Regions from separate parts of the Homo sapiens genome. Here region 1 is linked to region 2. Evidence: promoter capture Hi-C in human tissues and cell types (Jung and others, 2019). All regions are on one chromosome and are shown on one strand. Each heading gives the region's core, a stretch centred on a gene start or on the middle of the fragment in contact. The rest is flanking DNA. Distances are from core to core; before and after follow the strand shown.

Evidence for each region. Contacts are between HindIII fragments. The study calls those that stand out against the background at their distance.
Region 1: a fragment that was not itself captured here is called in contact with the fragment with the promoter of PES1 in region 2 in 1 of the 25 tissues and cell types used here (liver).

Annotation. Positions count from the first base shown.
Region 1 is chr22:29,539,715-29,544,939 of GRCh38, reverse strand. THOC5 (THO complex subunit 5) reads left to right here. Exons shown (of 20, transcript NM_003678.5): 3 at 337-480; 4 at 1,398-1,511; 5 at 1,984-2,081. Among named protein-coding and RNA genes, the nearest start is that of THOC5, 11 kb to the left of the region's middle. The HindIII fragment of the contact is 4,062 bases long and covers 1-3,992 here.
Region 2 is chr22:30,588,764-30,594,113 of GRCh38, reverse strand. It overlaps PES1 (pescadillo ribosomal biogenesis factor 1), which reads left to right and starts at 2,204. Exons shown (of 15, transcript NM_014303.4): 1 at 2,204-2,304; 2 at 4,844-4,923. The coding sequence starts at 2,281. RefSeq lists enhancers at 1,582-1,661, 1,882-2,181, 1,661-2,376. The HindIII fragment of the contact is 28,649 bases long and covers 1-5,350 here.

The sequences.
Region 1 (5,225 bases), core at 712-3,211, 1.0 Mb after region 2:
GTTTACAAATAAAATGTTTATTTATCCACAATCTTCACTCAGTTTCGGACTGAGAGGCGAAATTATAGGCAATTTTTCCATTTTCTTTTTGATACTCCTCTGTATATTCTGAATCTTTGATACCAGGCATGCATTACTCTGCAATCAGAAAGCAAAAGAGGTTTCTATTTTGAAGAGAAGAAAAGCATTTAATTTAAGGACCAGATCTTTTAGAGACCTGACTGAGGCTTCATTGTTACTGTTTTTATCTAAAAGGAGATGTCAGCCAAGTGTCCCTGATCCCAGCAGGGAGACTTTTACCCCATGCACACAGAGCCTTTATCCTTACCTCTACAGGAAGGTAAATACTACAGTGAGGAGGCCGAGGTGGATCTGCGGGACCCTGGCAGAGACTATGAGTTATACAAGTACACCTGCCAGGAGCTACAGAGGCTGATGGCTGAGATCCAAGACCTGAAGAGCAGGGGTGGCAAGGATGTGGTAAGGAGTGGGACCAGGTGGCCGTGAACCTGGTGGGTTTACATAGATGAGGCTGTTTTTGCACCTACCAGGGCCCTTCCTGATCTTGATCTTCTGTCCTAGCCATGATCAGGTGATTGGAGCCTGAGGGCTCCCAAAACCTGTGAATTTATTGGAACTTCTTATCACCATTCAGTCACCAATTACAGGAATGAAAGTACAGGATAATTAATTTTTTCCCTACTAATTTGATCATTCATCCAATTAATATTTATTAAGTGCCAGGCATTTTGCTAGGTGTTGAGAAATGATGGTACTTATACATTTGCTTGATACAAAGATGGATGTGTACAAGTAAATTGTAGATACCAAAAATGAAATTATCATTAATAGTAAATGAATAAATGAGGTTTTAGGGGCAGAGAAATTAAACAATGTGACTAAAAACTCGATAGATAAGTTTTTTAAAATCCATTTTTTCCCCCAGGAATCTCACGTATTTGTGCTTATGCTGACAAGTTTTGTTAGAATTATTGCATTCAATCTATTCTAGCCAAGCTTTATGGCTATAATTCTGTTATTTTCCATTTAAGTTATCCTGTAATGTTATTTATAGAGGTCAAATTTTATGACAAGATGTTACTATTGCTGGGATCTCTGTGTAGGATCTGTAGAGATAGATTGTGCCTTTGCTGCCCTTATTCCATCTTCAATTCCTGTTACTCTAGTCCAAGCAGAAATTACTTTTTTTTGCCCGAGATTCTTAATCATTTTCCTTATACAATCATCCTCTTATTTTCTTCATGACCCTTCTCATGGTTCTGAGCTCCCTCCGGTGCCGTTTTTGGCCCCAGATGAGGATGGGTCAGTGGTGAAGGACTGAAGGAAGCTGAGCTAGCCCTGTCGTCAGTGGGCTTTACTGTTTTCTTTGCCCACAGGCAATAGAAATAGAAGAACGGAGGATCCAGAGCTGTGTGCATTTCATGACTCTAAAGAAGCTTAACCGATTAGCCCACATCAGGTTGAAGAAAGGAAGAGATCAGACCCACGAGGTAGTAGTTAAAAGGTTTAATTTTAACCTTCCTCCTTCCTCCTCCCCATCCCCTTCTTTTTTTTTTTTTTTTTTTTTTTTTGAGACAGAGTCTCGTTCTGTCCCCCAGGCTAGAGTGCAGTGGCACGATCTCAGCTCACCACATCCTCTGCCTCCCAGCTTCAAGCGATTCTCCTGCCTCAGCCTCCTAAGTAGCTGGGATTACAGGCACCTCCCACCACCATGCCTGGCTAATTTTTGTATTTTTTAGTAGAGATGGGGTTTCACCTTGTTGGCCAGGCTTGTCTTGAACTCCTGAGCTCAGGTGATCCACTCGCCTCGGCCTCCCAAAGTGCTGGGATTACAGGCGTGAGCCACTGCACCCAGCCCCATCCCCTTCTTTATTCCCTTTACACCTTCTCTTAGTTTGCTGACCCTCTCCTCTGCTCCATCCTGACTTGCCCTGCTCACTTCTGATCGTATTTTCCTTTCAGGCTAAGCAGAAAGTAGATGCCTATCATCTGCAGCTCCAGAACCTGTTGTATGAGGTGATGCACCTACAGAAGGAGATCACCAAATGTTTGGAGTTTAAGTGAGTTTGGGAGGACAGGGCTTTGGCACATGTGGTCTTTCGGTAACTGCTTTTTCCCATGTAGCTCACTGTAAGTCTGTTTCTTTTTTTTTTTTGAGACGGAGTCTTGCCCTGTCACCCAGGCTGGAGTGCAGTGGCGCAATCTCAGCTCACTGCAACCTCCACCTCCCGGGTTCAAGCAATTCTCCTGCCTCAGCCTTCTGAGTAGCTGGGATTGCAGGCGCCCACCTCCACATCCAGCTAATTTTTGTATTTTTAGTAGAGACGGGGTTTTGCCATGTTGGCCAGGCTGTTCTCGAACTCCTGACCTCAGGTGGTCCTCCCGCCTCGGCCTCCCAAAGTGCTGGGATTACAGGCGTGAGCCACCGCTCCCAGCCTAAGTCTCTCTTTAAAAAGAAATCTGATGAGCTTAGAAAACTGTAGGATCTGGGAGAAGGGCAAATTGCAAGGGTGAATGTGGGAGAATTGCAAGCCGTGATTTCAGGCTGCATAAAGAACCTCAGAAGTCTCTCTGACCTTTTTGAGTTTTGAGCTCTGCACTTGGTAAAAAGCAGGTCTCTCTCCCTATCAGGGGTCTTTACATTACCAGTTTGATTTCTGGGCATGTTGTATGGGAGCAACTCACTTCCAGTCACATTCTTTTAACCTTTTGGCCCAGTTTTCCTTTCTGTAGTCCCAGCAGTTCATTTCTGCAAATGGATTTTATTCTTTGGAACCTGAATTTCTTGCTGCTTAGCTGCCTTCAGGTGAAGAAACTACAGTTTGTCAGTGTCCTTCCTCAAAACCAAGCTGAGAGATGAGAAGGAGGAAGGAGTAAACGGGAAGAGAAGGGGAAGTGTTCTCACTTGATCAGACCTGTTTATGCAAACTGAAAGCAGCTTTTATCTGTAACAAACTTGACATATGCAGGGGCCCTATTAGACATTGGGTCCAGGATATATATATATATATATATATATATATATTTTTTTTTTTTTTTTTTTTTTTTTTTTTTTTTGGAGATGGAGTCTTGCTCTGTCGCCCAGGCTGGAGTGCAGTGGCGTGATCTCGGCTCACTGCAAGCTCCGCCTCCCGGGTTCACGCCATTCTCCTGCCTCAGCCTCCCGAGTAGCTGGGACTACAGGCGCTTGCCACCACGCCCGGCTAATATTTCGTGTTTTTAGTAGAGACAGGGTTTCACCGTGTTAGCCAGGATGGTCTCGATCTCCTGATCTTATGATCCGCCTGCCTCAGCCTCCCAAAGTGCTGGGATTACAGGCGTGAGCCACCACACCCGGTGGGTCCGGAATATTTTTAATAATCATGATACTGATTGATTGTTTTGTTTTTTGTCTTTTTTTTTTTTTTTTTTTGAGACAGGGTCTCACTCCTGTCACCCAGGCTGGTGTGGTGGCACAATCCTGGCTCACTGCAGCCTTGACTTGACTTGGCTCAGATGATCCTCCCATTTCAGCCTCCTGAGTAGCTGGGACTATTGGCATGCACCACCATGCCTGGCTAATTTTTTGTATTTTTAGTAGTGATAGGGTTTTGCCATGCTGGGCTAGTCTCAAACTCCTGGTTGCAAATGATCCACCTGCCTTGGCCTCCCAAAAGGGTAAGATTAAAGGTGTAAGCCACCAAGCCTGGCCTGATGCTGATTTTTTTCTTTTCTTTTCTTTTCTTTTTTTTTTAAAGATAAAGTCTCGCTCTGTTGCCCAGGCTGGAGTGTGGTGGCGTGATCTTGGCTCATTGCAACCTCTGCCTCCTGGGTTCAAGCGATTGCATGCATGAGCCACCACACCCAGCTAATTTTCGTATTTTTAGTAAAGACAGGGTTTCACCATGTTGGCCAGGCTGGTCTCAAACTCCTGACTTCAGATGATGCACCCATTTCGACCTCCCAAAGTGCTAGAATTACAGGCATGAGCCACTGTGCCCAGCCCTGATGCTGATTTTTGAGAGGCATCTTTATCTGTTCCACAAAATCGTCACATAACAATAGTTAAATATGAATAGAGGTGAAATCTGCATCAGGTCTGTACTTGAGTTAATAATATTGTACCAGTGTCAGTTCCTGGTTTTGACAATGTATAATGTGGTTAGATAAGATAGTATCATTGGGTGAAGGGTACATGGAGGAAATACATTCTAAGTATTATTTTTGAAACTTCTTGGAGTCTTAAACTATTTCCAAATTAAAAAGGTATCAAAAACAAAATAATGTGATGCACTGGTCTGTAATCATCACCCAAATGGAAACTGACAAACCCAGAATACAGTGGAACTTGCGCCTGTTGGGAGGCAGACGGCCACATGGAAGGAGCATAGGCCTTGAAGTTACACAGCCTGGGTTCAAATCCCAGCTTGGCCACTCCCTAGCTGTGGACCTTGGGCAAGCTGCTTACTGATAGAAGCCTCCATCTCAGTCAAAAAATGGAGATTAAAACTCCCCACCTCTTAGAGTTGTTGTGAGGCTTAAATGAGGTGAGGATGACATATAGTGGGTGCTTATTAATATATGATAGCTGCCGTTATCATTACTGTCATCTGACCATAACCTGAGCAGTCAACTATGTTAATACAGCAAAGAGGGTTGGATTTTTTTGAGATGGAGTCTCGCTCTGTCTCCCAGGCTGGAGTGCAATGGCGCAATCCTGGCTCACCGCAACCTCTGCCTCCTGGGTTCGAGCGATTCTCCTGCCTCAGCCTCCTAAGTAGCTGGGATTACAGGCATGCGTCACCACGCCCAGCTAATTTTTAGTAGAGACGGGGTTTCACCTTGTTGATCAGGCTGGTCTCGAACTCCTGACCTCAGGTAATCCACCTGCCTTGGCCTCCCAAGGTGCTGGGATTACAGGGGTGAGCCACCGCGCCTGGCAGAATTTCTTTTCTTTTATACATATAAATCACTATGCATGCAACGGTTTAAGCCTCTAGATCTTTTTCCATCCAGTTCTCCCATGCTGGATCTTCCTCATTCTGTTCTTACGCGGCTAATGTCTTGAACTTAAGTGCAGACCCTTGTATTTATTCCTGTTAAATTATGTCTTGCTTTCAACCCTACAGCCTAGGCCCAGGCTGTAGTGTTTTTACTTGACTTTTTAGCTAGTAGTTCTCCTGCTCAGCTTGGAGACATTTGTAAATTTGATAAGAATCCCTTCC
Region 2 (5,350 bases), core at 955-3,454:
GCTTAGAGGTAAACCAGGTGTGTCTCCCTGCAGAGACTGGGCTTTTCACCGTAATGCTGATGGAGGCTTGGTATTGCACAAAGCATTCTGTGTGTGGGCAGCCCTAATGGTTAAAAACCTCTTCCCTTTATGGAACAAAAATCTACCTGGCATTATCCTGGAGTCACATAACATTCTTTCTACTATACGTTAGGTAGTGGAATGTGAGTTTAGCAGAGGACTCTGAAACCAGACTGCTTGGTGAGAATCTATTCTGCACAGCTTAGCAGCTGAGTGATCTTCAGCGATCACTTACTTTCCTGAGACTTAGTTTCCTCCCTTGTGAAATGTGGTACCTATATGACGGCTATTTTGAGCTGAAATTACAATTGCTTCCCTGAACATCCCCACCTGTGTCTTCCAGTGACCCCTCAACATTAATGTGAGCAAAACAAGGCTCAACTTTCTGCAAACATGGTTCTATCTGTGCAGGACGAGCTAGGTGATTTGTGAGGGACAGGGTGAGATGACTGCCCAGGCCACATGCTCACGACACCAGCCCTGTTCCTGTGTTGCCCTCATGAGCCAGCCACTGCCACCCTCTCCAGTCCATCCCTTTCCTTCTTCTTCTTTTTTTTTTTGAGATGGAGCCTCGCTCTGTCGTCTAGGCTTGAGTGCAGAGTGCAGTGGCACAATCTTGGCTCACTGCAACATCTACCTCCTGGGTTCAATAAATTCTCCTGCCTCAGCCTCCCAACTAGCTGGGGTTACAGGTGCCTGCCACCACACCCGGCTAATTTTTGTATTTTTGGTAGAGATGGGTTTTCGCCATGTTGGCCAGGCTGGTCTCAAACTCCTGATCTCAGGTGATCCGCCTGCCTCAGCCTCTCAAAGTGCTGGGATTACAGGTGTGAGCGACCGTGCCCGGCTTCATCTCATTTTTAACTGTGGAATTGCTGGGTTTTAAATTTTAGCTTTAAATTAGATAGTGCAAGTCACATAGTTCAAAACAAGTATTCACCAGTGCTTAACGTCTGTCTCTGTGTAAGTTCTAAGACCAAGTCCTTGGGCCAGGTCACATTCACAAGAGCCTCAAATTTAAACTTTTGAGATCATCTTCGAACGAAATTTGGAATTTGGAAAAAGGGAGAAACGTTTAAAAAAAAAAAAACCTCTTAAAATTGCATCTACTTCCAGACTGCACCATCTCAAGGTGATGTGACTATTTGTATAAATCTTGGAATTATTATTTGAGGAACACTTACAGAATTTATGTGTACAAATTAAAAGCTCGAATATGTTGAATGTACATTTAATTTTATTTATTTATTTATTTTTGAGATGGAGTCTCACTCTGTCGCCCAGGCTGGAGTGCAGTGGCAAGATCTCGGCTCACTGCAACCTCTGCCTCCCAGGTTCAAGCGATTCTCCTGCGTCAGCCTCCCGAGTAGCTGGGATTACAGGCGTGTGCCACCATGGCCAGCTAATTTTTGTATTTTTAGCAGAGACGGGGTTTCACTATATTGGTCACACTGGTCTCGAACTCCTGACCTCAGATGATCCGCCTGTCTTGGCCTCCCAAAGTGCTGGGATTACAGGCGTGCGCCACCGCTCCCAGCCTTGAATGTACATTTTAAATATACCACGAGTCCACCACTAAGGCTCAGAAAATATAAGTGGCCTCTAGGATCTCTATACCTCCGCGAGGAAAAATGTCTTCCTTTTTTCTATTTTAGCCGCATAACCGCGAATGAACCAAAGAGAACCCGAAGCCGGTGGGAACTCAGCGCAGTCTCACCCTGCCCCTCGGGAACCGCTTCTCAGCAGCGGCAGCCGAAGTCTGACGACGCTTAGCAACCGTTACCTTGACAACGCAATCCTATCGCGCACCATGGAGTGCGGCGCCCCTCTGCATCCCAGAAGGCACCGCGCTGTCCCTAAGCCTTCCGCCCCTCTCCGTCCCAACATGCAACGAGGCTCACAGTCAATGAATCGTCATCAGGGTGATTACAGAAAAGCCTGTATATCCACGTTTGTTTTAACACTTAAAGTGTTTGTAACCATTGTGAGCGGGAAAGATCTGGAAAGAGTGTTCTCAGTGATTTTTTTCAGACTATAGTTTTAAATCTTGAGGAGGAAATCCCCATCTTTCCCTGGACTTGTACAGGCATCTCATTGGGCAGCCCGCACAAACAGACAGCGTGGGGTGGGGAGGGTCCTCGGGGTCCTTGGCAGGGCACGTGCGGGAGGAAGTGGAGCTCCCTGTACGCGCGGCCCTAGTCGGCTCCTCAACGTGGAGCGATGGGAGGCCTTGAGAAGAAGAAGGTGATTGGGAAAGACGGTGGGGATTCCCGAGGGGTGGGGTGCGGGGGCGGCAGAGCATGGGGTCGACTCTTTTCCCGGGCTCCGTCTCGTGGAGACTGGAAAGACGGGATCGACGTGACCGTAATCAGCTGCGAGAAGGGGTCCGAGAATGGACAAGGATGGCAGTATTCGTTTAGTGAAATCCGAGAACGAACTCCAGAGTTCTTTCTGTGGAGAGGGCTGTGAAAGAGAGTTGAACTTACCAAGCGTAGCTTCATTCCAAAAGCAGGCCGAGCCGTGGGACCACTATTTACCGAAAGGGTGATAAACATTACGTAGAGCTCACCGTTACTGCACCGTTACATTAGTTGGTTAGTGTTGTCTTGGAAGTTCTCTTCGAGGCATAACATTTCGGCTGAAATGGGAAAGATCAGAACGTCTTGGATGGGTTCTGGGGCATGGGAGTGCTTAGCGAGCAGGCCTGACAAGGGAAACCAAGTGCCAAGATCAGTAGGCAGGGAAGGCTTGCTGTGTGTAAGGAGTTGGAAGGACATTAGGATGACTCGCATGTAAACCAAGAAAAGAATGGCATCTGATAAGATTGGGGTTGGACACGTACTGTATCGTGCAAGGCCTGTAAGCTTGGATTTTATTCTAAGTGCAGTAGGAATAGTGTAGAGCTTGGATTTTATTCTACGTGCAGTAGGAAAAAAAGGAGGAGTAACACGATTAGAGTTTTTCAGGGAGTTCTTGTGGCTGTATGGAGAATCGGCCCAGTGACATGAAAAGACTGGGAAGGGAATGGGAATGAGGAATATATAGTTGGCTTAAGTGTTTCTTTCAGAGTGAAAGTTTCTATTGCCAGTGTTCTTAACCCAACACACTACATTGAGTATCCAGTGCTAGCCATCGGAACTGCAAAGATACAAGATGGAAAACCTGCCCTTGAGTTGCAGATGTAGATATGTAACAAAATCGTTACAGTTTTTAAAAGCTGGGTTTCAGAGCCAGAATCAACAAAGATGAGTCTTTGTTGTGGGAAGGATTGTCTTGTGTGTAGTAGGATATTTGGCAACATCCCTGATCCTTTACCTACTGGATACCAGTAGCACCCAGCAACCAAAAATGTCTCCAAACATTGCTGAACTCTCCTCCCCCCAGCACATACCCAGGGAGTACCCCATTGAGAACTATTTATTCCCTTAACATTTATAAGGATAAGCATGGTGACAGAGATAAGTGTGGCATAAGGTAATGGAAAACGCTATAAATGAAAACTCAACTTCTTAAGGCAGTCTGAAACTCATCTTTATACCTCCAAGACTTAGCATGGGCCTAATACCTAATAGACAATTAATGTCTAAAGGAAAGAATGAATGAAGGGTATGTTTCATGACTATGATGTTATTAGTAAACGTACCTGTGGGAGACTAACAGGTTTGTCTCTTTAGAGCTGAACCTAGCCAAAGAGGCCCCTGCTGTCTTAGTCCAGAGGAAGATCTTGTTTGGAAACGACATGCTTGTTAGCTTGCAGGGTATTTGTTACAGTGCACTGATTGTCTCTATCGAGGGATACAGAAGTGTGAGGGATACAGAAATGTGGGTGTGAGGCAGCATCTTAGCACCACAGGCATCCAGATGGTTATACAAGACAATAGGCTTCTTAGGGGCAGGTAGAGACCAGGCTTTTTGTCTTTATTGCCTTCATAGCATCTAGCTTAGTGCTTTGACCATAATAGAGGACCTGTTATTGTCTGTTGAATGAATGAATGAGGAAGGGGAGAAGCTGTGTGGCTTAGAGCATGCTTTTTCAGCCAGGGTAATACCACCCTCAAGGGAACAAAATTGGTTGAGGGGCAGTATCTTAGCTATTACAATGGTTGTGGCTCCCCAAGGACTACATTACATAAACAGACCTACAGTATATCTCTGGTATTAACATTTTATGGGGCATAGGGAAGAAAGGGTGATGGGTGAGGGAGGAAGGGGGTGTCTAATAAGTCTCCTGGTAGTGGTGAAGAGGTTATAATGAGGAAGAAAAGAAGGGGAAAAGATTAGGAACACTGGCTTAGCTATTAGGCATTCAGGTACTGGACTCAGACCTGAGTTTGAATCCCAGCCCCAACTCTTAAAAAGCTGTGTGCTTTTTAAGAGTTGCATGGGTTATTTTACGAGCCCGTTTTCTCCTATGTGAAATGGACGTTCGGACAGCACCTACATCACAGGGTTATGGGAATTAAATGAAATGTGTGAAAATCACTAATTGTAATGGCCAACATTTAGAGCTAGTGCTAAGCACTTGGCACAGCACCCTATCCGTAGCAGCCTCGCAGCCCTCAGCATCATGCAGATGTATGTGTTCCCTATGCTGACAGCCGCAAGGATGGTACAGGAGAGCTCATCCAGGCAGGTCGGCTCCTTCCCTGCAGTGTTTCCTCTCCTAGACTCATCTCAGCCACTTATCCAGAGTGATAGTTGCCTCTGGAACTAGGCATGCCCAGAGTTTGATGTCAGTCACTACAATCATTGCTAATGGAGAATTGTTTTTTTCCTCTCCCAGTATGAACGAGGCTCGGCCACCAACTACATCACCCGGAACAAAGCCCGGAAGAAGCTCCAGCTGAGCTTGGCTGACTTTAGGTGAATATAGAGGGACCGTGGGAAGCCCGGGCAGTGAATTGCACATTGAAAACTCAGCTGCATCCCTGTCTTACCTGAGTTGCCATACCCATTCTGGGGTTCTGGTATTCCTTCTCTTTCTCACCGCCCTTGCTTTAGTGAGTTGTGTTTGCTAGGTGTGGTCCAAGGGAAAATGGAGGAGAACTGAACTGGATTGTCAGGATGGGCTAGCTGGGCTGGGATGGGCTGGGCTGGGTCCCTGCCATCCATCCCCTCCTATCTGGTAGAAGAGACCCCTGATCCTGCAACTAGGGGTTCTCATTCCTCATAGAGTCAAAATAAGACTTCACTGTGGCCTGTGGGCCCTGCCCTCTGGCGGTCCCTGGCCTTTGTGGCTCACCTGGCCCACTTTTTTTTTTTTTTTCCCCGGAGACAGAGTCTCACTCTG